Regions from separate parts of the Homo sapiens genome. Here region 2 is linked to region 1. Evidence: promoter capture Hi-C in human tissues and cell types (Jung and others, 2019). All regions are on one chromosome and are shown on one strand. Each heading gives the region's core, a stretch centred on a gene start or on the middle of the fragment in contact. The rest is flanking DNA. Distances are from core to core; before and after follow the strand shown. Region 1 holds the start of PDE7B (phosphodiesterase 7B). Region 2 holds the start of LOC105378012 (a long non-coding RNA gene).

The links. Contacts are between HindIII fragments. The study calls those that stand out against the background at their distance.
Region 2: a contact is called between a fragment that was not itself captured here and the fragment with the promoter of PDE7B in region 1, in 1 of the 25 tissues and cell types used here (mesenchymal stem cells).

The regions. Positions count from the first base shown.
Region 1 is chr6:135,847,832-135,853,682 of GRCh38, reverse strand. It overlaps PDE7B (phosphodiesterase 7B), which reads right to left and starts at 1,982. Exons shown (of 13, transcript NM_018945.4): 1 at 1,664-1,982. The coding sequence starts at 1,684. RefSeq lists a silencer at 1,958-2,195. The HindIII fragment of the contact is 14,106 bases long and covers 1-5,851 here.
Region 2 is chr6:135,804,812-135,810,411 of GRCh38, reverse strand. LOC105378012 (a long non-coding RNA gene) reads left to right here and starts at 4,241. Exons shown (of 3, transcript XR_943034.3): 1 at 4,241-5,600. It overlaps LOC101928326 (a long non-coding RNA gene), which reads left to right and starts at 555. Exons shown (of 2, transcript XR_245604.4): 1 at 555-2,551; 2 at 3,094-3,267. The HindIII fragment of the contact is 3,688 bases long and covers 1,681-5,368 here.

The sequences.
Region 1 (5,851 bases), core at 733-3,232:
TCACATGTTGTTCAAGAGAGTGAGTACATTCTGAAATTAGACAGCTTACAGTGTCAGGTAAAAATTCTTACAAGGCAGAGACAGTTTTTGGAGTTGCAACTAGTTAACTGTGGGCTTCTACTTGAGACAAAAGTGACTTCATTTTATTGGAGAAAATGTCAATCAAGACGTAACTACTGACACCTGTCTTTGTTTCACCAGCCAGTAATAAAAGATAAAGCAGAGGAAATGGAGGAGCTGCAGTTATGCGTTTGCAACACACAAAGTCCTTGTTTTCCCACTAGGCGCTGCAGAAAAGCAATTGTCCATTCACGGCACATCCTCTGCATTTCAGAGCTAATATTTTTGCAGTTCTTAACTTAGTACATTCCAGTCTTATGCAGTTAATTTTTTTAACCCTTTGAAATACACCTCATGTTTGAAATCGTGCTTAATATTACTGCTAACATGACCCAGTTTTAAAGCTTTCAGGTTCTCAATGTTGAGAATAGAAACTTTAAGAAAATCGGTTAGAAATTTTGGAACAGGGTAAGGATTTCAAATAATCCTGTCTTATTTGCTATTGCATAACTTTGAGAAGGGTAATAGGGAAATCCATGGTAACCATATATTACTTAAATTGCTGTTACAAAAACCGACTCTTTGGATAGGAATGATTTTTAGCAGGGATCCTCCTTAAGACATAATAATGTGCCACTGAAAACAACATTAGCCCTGTATTGAATTGCCAATCTTCCTGCAGCATTTAGTGTGTTTACTGTATATGAATGCCTATGCCTGTCTCTGGTGCAAAGAGGTTTACTCTTATTGCAATAGTCACTCTGGCTAGAGCACATGAAGAACAGAATTTTTAAATGATTAATTAGTCCCCAGGCTCAATCACTTAAGCCCCTAATTGAATATCTGACTCCATTTTCAACTATTGTAGGAAAAGATAATTAGCAAATTTGCAGTGGTAATAAAGAAGTTTTACTTTCCTTTATAAATAATAATATCTAAATTTCTGGTCATGTAACTTAGTACTTGCATCTCTCCTGGACTTCTGAATCCAAAACATTTTTTGAAAAATGCAACAAGGTGATGAAGGATTTTTCTTCAGAGCTCATTTTTTGGACATCTTCTATTGATTTTTTTCTACCTTCAGTCTCACTATCAGCTTCTTCCCTTCTTGCCACTAATTTCTTCATCTTGAAGTCTGCTATCAACCAACATGAAAAACTCAAGAAAAAAACTAATTTCCTTCTTCCCTGTTCCACAAACCTTACCAATCCCTTTACCAGCATTTTCCTATCCTGTCCCACCAAAAATGAAAATTACCCAACTCCAAGATTTATGTTGGAGAAAAAAAATATTGCATTCTTTATTTTTTTTTTTAAAGACCACCTCAGTGTGGGCTCAAAGTGCAGTGAAAATGCCGGAGTCTCATTACACTGGTTGGAATGAAACCCTGCTGCCCTTAAACGGTTAATTCAGGGTAAGTGATAATGTTTAGTCAGTTCGCCTAGAAAAAGGAAGGAAATTCAAAAGCTGGTTGCTGTAGTAACAATCACAGACAAAAAACATATATATGTACAGGTTCATTTTAAATAAAAATCCTGCCATCTCTCTGTGACTCTATTCTCTCAAGAAAACTGAGCTTGCCGCTTAAATTTGTTGTACATACCTCAACCATTAAACAAGACATTTAACCATAGTGGCAGTTCTGTGACCTTTGAATGCCGTGAAATCTCTGAGCGGTGCTGCTTGTTCATGAAGACTTGTGCTGCAGAATCCAGCAACTTCATCCAGGATTAGGAATATAATTAAGTAACAAAAAAAAAAAAAGAAAAAAAAGGAAAAGAAATAAAGAAACACAAAAGCACACAAGGAGATCGAGAAAGAAGGAAGGTAGAAAGAGAGACTCTCCCTGGGTGAGTAACACCACTTTTCTCCCAGACAAGTGCTGGGACAGAGCCGAGCCTGCTGCAGTGCCCAGACCAACTGACTGGCTGGGTGAGCAGCCGCCGGCCTGCTAGGCTGGGAGGTGCTGTCAGTTGCCACAGGCAAGGAAAAGCAGAGACCAATCGGCTTCAACTCTGGCAGCTTACTGGAGTGGAGCCTTTTCTGTTTATGTTTCCTCATTTCAAGAGTGACGTCAAAGGGTTTAGTTTTTCCTCTGCATGTGCTATTAATTTTAAAGTACTGTACTATGGGAAGAATGTGTGTGTGCCTGTGGTCAGCCTGGGCACCCCACTCTCAGGAGAGCCCAAGAAACATTTTCTATATTCGGGAATACATTTAAAGAATTTAAAATACCTTGTGGTGAGGTGTATAAAAACAAAAGCAAAACAAAACAAAAATTAAATATAAAACCCTGAGCTAAATCATAGCAGCAAGATGTAGATTTTTTCCATCTGTGAGTGTATGTGCTCCATGCTCACTTGGCAGCTGTTGCTTATTTTTTTTTACCTAATTCATTTTTACTCTTACCTAAAAATGAGTTGTTAATTAAACTTGATAGCCATAGAGGCAGAATCGTACAAATGCACTGGTGAACAAAATGATGTGCAATGAAACATAGAACTCCTGTGTCAGTTTGTGCCATGGGTCCCTGCGTTTCCTCCAGCTTCCGTGGTGAAGCCTCAGGCTTGTTCCTGCCAGGGAGATGCCTCCTGATGCCAGCAGGAGTCATTCAAGAAGCAAGGCTATGGTGATGCCATGCAGGTGTGCCTGGGGCCTCAGCTTGTTCTTTCCCAAAGAGTATGAAGGTCCAGTTATTTAGGGATACTTCCTTTACCAGGGACCCCAGCTTATCCCTGGGTTACACTTCCCACTCTGGAAAAATCCCCATAGTTGCCATCTGTTGTTTCTGCCTCCCCCACATCCTCCTCCTTTTCCCCATCCCCATCCTAAATTCTGCTAACAGACCTTTTTTGGGTGGGCGGTGGGCGGAACTTTCCTTCCTCTATCTTCTATGGATTGCATGGACTTTGCCCCCAGCCCCATTCCCACGACAGAGCCACAAGGGGGCATGGGACCCACAGGGGCCAATCAGATTTCTCCATTGCTCCGAGGCAGACTATGTTTTAGGGGTGGGCGCAACACTAAAGAATGTCCACATTCCTTTTTCAAATACTAATATTGTTTCTTTGAGAAAGAAAGTATTTATGTATCCCTAAGAGCCTAGGCGCTAGGATTAAGCATCCCTGTAGTTGTTGGGGTTTATCTTTGGTGTTGAAGCTACAATAGTGAACAAAACAGATGGTTCTTTGCCCCCATGGAGTCTACATTTTGGAGAAGCAGGGAAATTGTCAAAGAAAAATAAGTAAACGTATAATGTCAGTTGGCAATGAGGGCTTCAAAATAAGGTAAGGAGAATGAGGTGTGTGTGTACACGTGCATGTGTGTGTGTGTGGTGTGTGTGCTATTTTAGGAAAGATGATCAGGGCAGCCCTCTGATAAAGCAACTTGGAGCGGAGGCCCGAATGATGGGACATAGCAGGTACTGTGTGCCTCTACCTTCCATGCAGATGAAGCCATGGAAAGGTCCCACAACACATGAGTGCTTGGCAGAGCCAAGGAACAGGAAGGGAAATAGAGTGGCTGGAAGAGAATGAGCAAAGGGAAGAAATAAGTTTCAGAAGGTATGTCTGGGACAAGATCAGGACATGTCTTACAGGCCATGCACACGACTTAGATTTTATTCCAAGGTGAAAACCTACCTATCAGAGTGTTTTGAACTGAGGAATGTCTATGATTCGACACGAATTCTGAAGAGATTTCTCTCTTTTCTCTGTGGAAGATAGACTCCTAGGGAGCAAGAGTAGAAGCAGAGAGACCAATAAATGAGGCCACTGTGCTAACCTAAGTGAGAGCACATCATGGCTCGGACTTGGGTGAGAGCAGTGGAGAAGGTGGGAGGGCCAGATTTTGGAAGGGGGCCTGTGTATTTGCAGAGAGCGTTGGCAGTATTTGAAGATGAGAGGTGTGAGAAAAAGAGAGGAATCAAGAGTAATTTCCAGGTTCCTGGCTTGGGCAAACTGGACTAGAGTTGCCATTTACTGACATGGGGAAGACTGGGAGAAGAGCCTGGTTTTGAGGTGAAATAAATAACAGTTCTGGACCTTCACTGAACAGCAACAGATATTTGATTGTGTACTCTGTACCAGGCACTGTTCTAGGTGCTGGGGAGAATGCAGTGAAAACATATAACACACATACACACCCTCCAACACGTAATTCTTTGACCCCACGAAACTTAGATTCTTCTGAAAGGAGAATGGCCATAACAACAAATAAAAAATTTATATAGGATATCGGGTGGTAATACTGTTGTGAAGAAGAAACAGGAGAGGGAAGGGTCACTAGTCAGATAGAGGCTTGCAATTTTAAAGTGAGTATGCAGAGAAGGTGCCACTGCAAAGATGATGTTGGACACAAAGGGGAAGTTGATGAGGGAGGCATAGGGAGAGCATTTTAAACAAGAGGACATTAAGTGCAAGGCTCTGGGGACTGGAGTATTTGGCTGGTAAGTAGTAGGATATGGCAATGGGTGCAGAGGTGACAGATCAAGGAGAGTTTTCTAGGTCATTGTAAGGACTTTGGCTTCCTGTCTGCATGAAACAGGGCTTTAAGGAGAGGAATGAGGCAATCTGACTTACTTTTTGACAGGATCGCTCTGGCTACCATGTGGAGGTCAAGGTAGAAGAGAGTCTAATAAACGATATATTGCAATAAACAAGCCAGACATCCTAGTGGTGTCTACCACGATGCTTTGGTGGAGGTGGCTAGAAGTGGTTTACTTCCAATTATATGTTGGTGTTAAGGACAATAAGACTTGTTAAATGGATTGGGTGCTAAGTACAAAGGAGGGAGATTAGTGAGAGGAGCCAATGACATCTCCAAAATTTGGGGTTCCATCAAGTAGAAGAACAGAGCTAGCACTGACCAAGGGATGGCGGGAGAAGCAGGTTTTGTGGGGAAGATGAAGTTTGATATTGAATTTGTTAACCTTGCCTGTAAGATATCTACATGGAGATGTTGACTAGGCAGTGGAATATATAAGCATGCAGTTTAGGGTACAGTTCTGGGCTGTAGATATAAATTTGGAAGTCATTGTATACCTGTAGAACTTAAAGCCATGAAACTAGATACAATTACCAAGGGAATGAATGCAGATGGAAGAGCTGCAGGCAGTCCACGATTATGCTGTCAAGAATATAAAGAAGGACTAGCAAGGAAGGCTGACAAGGAGCCTCCAGAAAGTATAAGAAAAACCAAGAGAGAATGGTGCCTTAGAAGGTAAATTAACTATTTCAATGATCAGCTGTGTAAAATGACACTTAAATGAAGATTGAAAATTGACCCTTAAACTTAGAATGTGTAATCATTTGTGTCTTTAACAAAAGAAGGTTGAGTGTAGTAGAAAGTTGAAAGGTTAAGAAAAACGAAAGAAGAATTGGGAACAAAGAGTATAGGCAATTATTTCAAGGTGTTTTGCCCCAAAGAGAGCAGAGAAATGGAGCAGTCATTGAAAAGGAATATCAGCATGTTGTACACTGATGGAAAAAATGCAGTTAAGGGGAATAATTGGTGATGCGGAAGAGAGGGAGCAAATTTCTGGGGCACAAATCAAATTTGTGGTAGGCTACATGCCCTCCAGGTAAGTCCACACTCTAATTCCTGGAACGTGGGGACATGTTAATTGCATGGCAAAAGGGACTTTGCAGATTTAATTGAGGTTATGAATCTTAAAGTAGGGAGATTTTATCCTGGGTTTTCTGAGTGTGCCCAATCTAATCACATGAACCCTTAAAAGCAGAGAGATTTTTCTGGCTGGAAGCAGAAGAGAGATGCAGCAGACATCATAGAA
Region 2 (5,600 bases), core at 2,275-4,774, 45 kb after region 1:
TTTCTTTCTGATTGACATAGCCCCTTTTAAAAATTTCCGTCTCTTTAATTGAGCATAAAACTATAATTGTTTTTTACAGTCTCTTTATGGGGTGTGCCATAATACACTGACATTCTGTACAGGAGTTTATACCTTGAAACAATTATATGTTTATATCCTGGATAAAAAATTAAGTTATTGAATATGATTCAAGATTTTCTAAATCATACCAAATTCTTCTTCACAGGAAATATGTCATATCCATGTTTTAGTGTAGTGTGTGGTAACAGTCTTTGGATCACGTGTCACATAAATAGTACCACGGTAGCATTTGTATTTGACAAGTAAGTTATAGCTATAAATAAGCCATTATATGGAGGAGAATATCAAACTTTTCTTTACTTCTTTACCCAATTAGCAGATTTTAAGAAAGGAATTTAGAATTCATTATCATACCTTTATCAGTAGTGATGAAGGGTGTGGGCTCTGGAGGAGAGAATCAGGGGAGTAAATATTAGCCTTGCGACTTTTGGCTTGTAGAGAGGAAAAACTTTTCCTATGCCCTCTTATCTTCTGTAGTTGGGGCCTGTGAATTAAATTAATAGAAGACAGATTAACAGAAGAAAAGCATGCAAAATTTACTGGATGTTAATCTTTGTACATGTACATGGGCTTTGAAGAAACAGAAGGAAACAGCCCAAAGAAGTGACTAGACTTGGCCTTATACACCATTTTAACAAAGAGTGATAAATTATGGAGAAGTGACTACACAAAAGAAAGGGGCTTGGCTTTCTAGGAGTGGCAAATTGTGGGAAGGTAAATATATGGGGGAAATTAACTGCTAGATAAAGGTTATGTAGTAAGGTTTGTCTATACAGACTTATTTAGGTGCTGTCTCCATTTCCAGTGGTACAGTTTGTTATCCCTTTCCTGATATGGAAGGTGGGGAAATACTTTCACAAGAAAGCTTTATGCCCTATGTTTAGGCAGATAGGGGAGGGAAAAGAGCTCTTCTTGTGTCTGCTTTTTCTCAATTGCCTTCAACTTAAAATAATTATTATGCCAAAGTGGCATATTTTGGCGTGACATATTCTAATCCCCTTCAGATGTTATGACTGTCAGCAAGTTCTTATACTCCTCCAAGCCTCAGCCTCCTCCTGGGCAAATGAAGACAATAATGGTATCTATTTCTTAGGGTTGTTATGGGCATTCAATAGATAATACATATGAGCAGCTCAGCACAGAAGTAGGTACATAATAAGTGTTCAATAAAGGAGAGCTATCATTCTTATTTTTATCTCCAGAATCCGTTTTTTGCTTTCACCTATAGAGATATAGACAGTACATGCATACCAACTCTGCCCATTAATTAGCATATATATATATATGTATTTAAGAAGTGGAGGAATGAGAAAAAACAATATCAGGATCATTTAGTCTTAAGCGTAAAGTGTTAAGGAGGATTTAAACAGCAATGTTTAAGCTGAAGATAAAAAAGGGAGGAGGTTTAAATTAAGGAATAAAAATATTTAGGTTCAGATTAAATAATTTATCAGATACAACTCCTTAGTTATGGGTGTGTGTATGTAATTAGATCTCCTCATCATCTACTCTTAAAACCAGACTTATCGCTTTTACTCTCCACTCCAATCACCCACCAGGTCATGCTGATGTTAACTGGCTCATGCCCATCACTTCTTTTTAGTTCCCAATGTTACCTCCTAGGCTGAGTTTTCATCTTGTTAAACCTAGATTAATGTAATACCTTCTAAACAGTCTCTTAATCTTTTAATATCTTCCTTATTCTATTCAATCCTGTGTTCTGCCAACCAATTACTATTCCTCAAAAACCACTTTGTTTAATCTCTCTGAATTCCGACTGCCTACATAGTAAGATTCTAATTCTTTGGTTTAGCTTTCAAGATTCTATTCAATCCAACTTTAACCTACCTTTTTTGTTCCATTCCTCTCCCCTCCCCATCCACTCTAGTTAGAGGGATGTGGACTAGAATGGGAATAAGGACGCAGACTCCAGAGCAGACTGCCTGCATGAACTCCAGGTCCCCACCAGCCAGTTCTAAACTAAAAGTTCAGATATTCTGAACCATGGAACAAACATGATGTGGCCTGCTGAAGTAGAAATGTGGACTTTTGGGATGTGAGACCGAAATCACTCATAGATAAGGGTCCTTCCTAAATCTACAGAGTGGGCAACAAACCTAATTCACTTGTTAAAATAATCATTGAGATGGAAATTGCAAACGTTCTGACTCTGGAGAGACAGAGGGTGACTGGCAGGCAAAGGAGAAATCTCAGGCTTCAGTAATGAGAATTTTTCATGAGTCGCCTAATCAAGCTCATGAGACCTGGAGAGTCTATGAGGAAAGGGTTCAGTGATAGAGAAAGCCGGAGATGATGAGGCTGGGAGAGTAAGCTTCTCTTACCATTGTTCTCTATTCTCCCTACTCCCATATTCTTCCAGTGGGACAAAGTGCCCCAAAGTATAAGTCAGTGTGTCCCAAGGGGTCTGGAGTTTAGGTACCTGAACATGGAAGAGGGCCTTGCTAAACTGGTGAGTATCAGAGTTGGGTGGGTGCTAGTGTCACAGGTGTGACAAGTCATCCAGGTTGGATTTGGGCATCAGTCAGAGGACACGGAGGAAAACAGAGAGTTTGGATAGGCTCCCACACCTGTGGGAGATCAGCTCCCCACTATTTCCTTGAAGCCCAAGACGTCATTAATTCCTAGCTTTTTGTGGCTCCAAAGCAATTTGCCCATGCACTGGCTTTCTGAATGGTGTTTGGACTATCACCTACGCAGAATCTTCCATTTTTCCTGGATGATATTTATCCTCATGTTTTTATGTCACCAAATGTTCTTTGGAATAATAACTGTAACATTTTTTGAGTGCCTGCTATATTCTAGAGCCTTTAAAATCTTTATATTCACCATCAGCCCTGCTTTATTAATATAGAAACTAAGCCTATGTAGGTTAAGTGGTACAGCCAGGACCCTAACCCAAGTCCGTCTGTGTCCAGAGCACAAATTATTGTAGCTTTCTTCATAAAAATCTGTAAATTTCTCATCTCTCTCTCTTTCTCTTTTAACCCACAGGTTTGACCTTTCTCTCATCCCCAGCAAAGTTCTGAATGCGGGTTCTGACTCTGAGCTGAAGGCATACTTCATGAAGTTTCCTGCTGCCCTTTCACTACACAGCTGGACTTGGAGGCAAACTTGGAGATAAAAATATAGTTCCCGTGCTATCCCTTATAAAGATTTAAGAGAAAGTATAGAAAGAAAGGCAAAGCTAATTACTCAATATGCATCCGTTAGTTTTAATGCAATAAAAGAGTCAGTCCCATAATATAGCAAAGGTTACACTTAAAACTTAAATGCAAGATATTAGAAAGTACTTCATAAGAAATTAATGCTGTACTATTAGGGCCTTTAAACCAAGCAGTCAATGCATCAACAAATCTTTATAGGGAAACTATTATGTGGCAGACAAGGTTAGGTGGCTGCAATATGTCTGCCTTTGTTGATGAGTTTCATCTTTCCTATTGAGCGGCCTATAAACATGGCAGCATTCCTATGTCCAGTTTACCTATTATAAAATCTTAAATGAATTATGTTAAAAATCATGCTAGCAGTACCAATGAATTTTTTAGAGACAATGCTTTATTGGATTCATTTCTTTTTTTCCAACTATTTTGTCTGGAAAGATGGGATTTTTAAAATGTATAATGACATTTTGGCTAATAATTATAGTTTAGAACTTCATTCTTTCCGTCAAGAACTGTTATTTGAGTGCTGGATCAAATGGCTTTTCTACAGATCTCGTTCCTTCAGATCTACGTAACTAAAGCTCTGTTTAAAAAACAAACAAAAATTCACATGCTAGTGCTGTTACAGAAGTTTTATCAGACTGGCAGTCCAAGTGGTTAAAATTCCTTGTAACGGGTATCAGTTTGAAAAGATTCTTGACTGGGTGTAGTGACTTATGGCTGTAATTCCAGTGCTTTTGAAGGCCAAGGCAGGAGGCTTGCTTGAGGCCAGGAGTTTAAGACCAGCCTGGGCAACATAAGTAGACCCTGTACTTGCAAAAAAAAAAAAAAAATTAATAAATAAATTAACCAGGAGTGCTAATGTGTGCCTGTAATCCTAGCTACTTGGGAGACTGAGGCAGGAAGATTGCTTGAGCCCAGGAGTTTGAGGCTGCAGTGAGCTGTGATTGCACCACTACACTGCAGCCTAGGTGACAGAGTGAGACCCTGTCTCTAATACATAAATAAATAAAAACAAAGATTCTTAATACCCTTTACCTTTTTCATTAGGAAATATTTTATTAGGAAATTTATTAGGAAATATTTCATTAGTGAAGGAAAGTCTCACTTTTTAAACTTGACTTTGACCAACACTCTGTTCTCATGACTTATGTCCCTTTAATACCTAAATCATTTGCCTAGCTAATTGGGCCTGCACCAGTGTGTACTGTTAGATCCCATGGAACGTTGACCTGACAGGTGTTCTATTTGTCAGGCAGGGCTTTCCTTGGCTTCCCTTTTATCATTTCTTCTTCCTGCTTCTTCAAGAGACTTATGACTCTCTGTCATAAGCTCTCAGTTATAGAACAGAGCTATACATAAAACGTGCATATACACAAATGGGTAAGGAGTATACCTGCACTAAATAATTCTTTCTCTCTGAAACTCAATAACAACTGGCCTCTTGTCTGAAAAACATCAGGACTCTTGCACTAAAGACCAGGCAGCCATCCAGCTGTGCCCAGTTGCTATTTTTTGGTATCCATTCTAAGAAGTTATCATTTTCATGAGAATGAAAATGTTGTACCACAGAAATTTTAACTTTGGAAAGCAACTCTTTGGAGTTCTAATTTCTCGTAGGGCAATATTTTTCAGGCTTGTTGGGTTTCTGTGTTTGAACATCTGAGTTCTCACTTTTAGAGGCTTGTGCTTCCTAGCACTCTATCCTATTACACCTATGCCAGGACTTGGTAGCTAAAGTATAAGCTGAAATAATTATGTCGTTAATTCATGCTAAAACCTGTCTTACTCCATTTAGCAAGTTTTATTTTGATATATCCATACAATCACTTCAAATCACTACTTCATTTTGGCAATGCTAAATTGTTTATACAACGCTACTGTTCATGCTCATCCTGCAGAACAGCTAGTGAAGTATGTCTGTAACCATATGGCTTGTTGTTATCATATCATTATACCTCATTTAATAACAGTTCCTAATATATTGGGTATTGCATAGAAGACACTCAAATTTTTTTTTTGTAAGTAAGTACTGTTAACAAGGCAAGCTTCTGTCAGTAGGTTACGCTAATATTCAATTTGTATCATATTTAGATAACATCTTGAATGTGTAATTATTTCTATTTGACTCAATGGCCTCGGTTGCTGATGAGAACCCAAGCTTTGAGAATCAGAGATTGGTTCTTTCTTACTAAGTAAAACAATGCATTATTTATTTTAGAGTTAATCCAAACTGACATTTTTATGACTGCTATGGACAAAATGTTTGTATCTCCCCAAAATTCATATGTTGAAGCCCTAATCCCCTGTGTGGTTGTTTGGAGATGAGACCTCTAA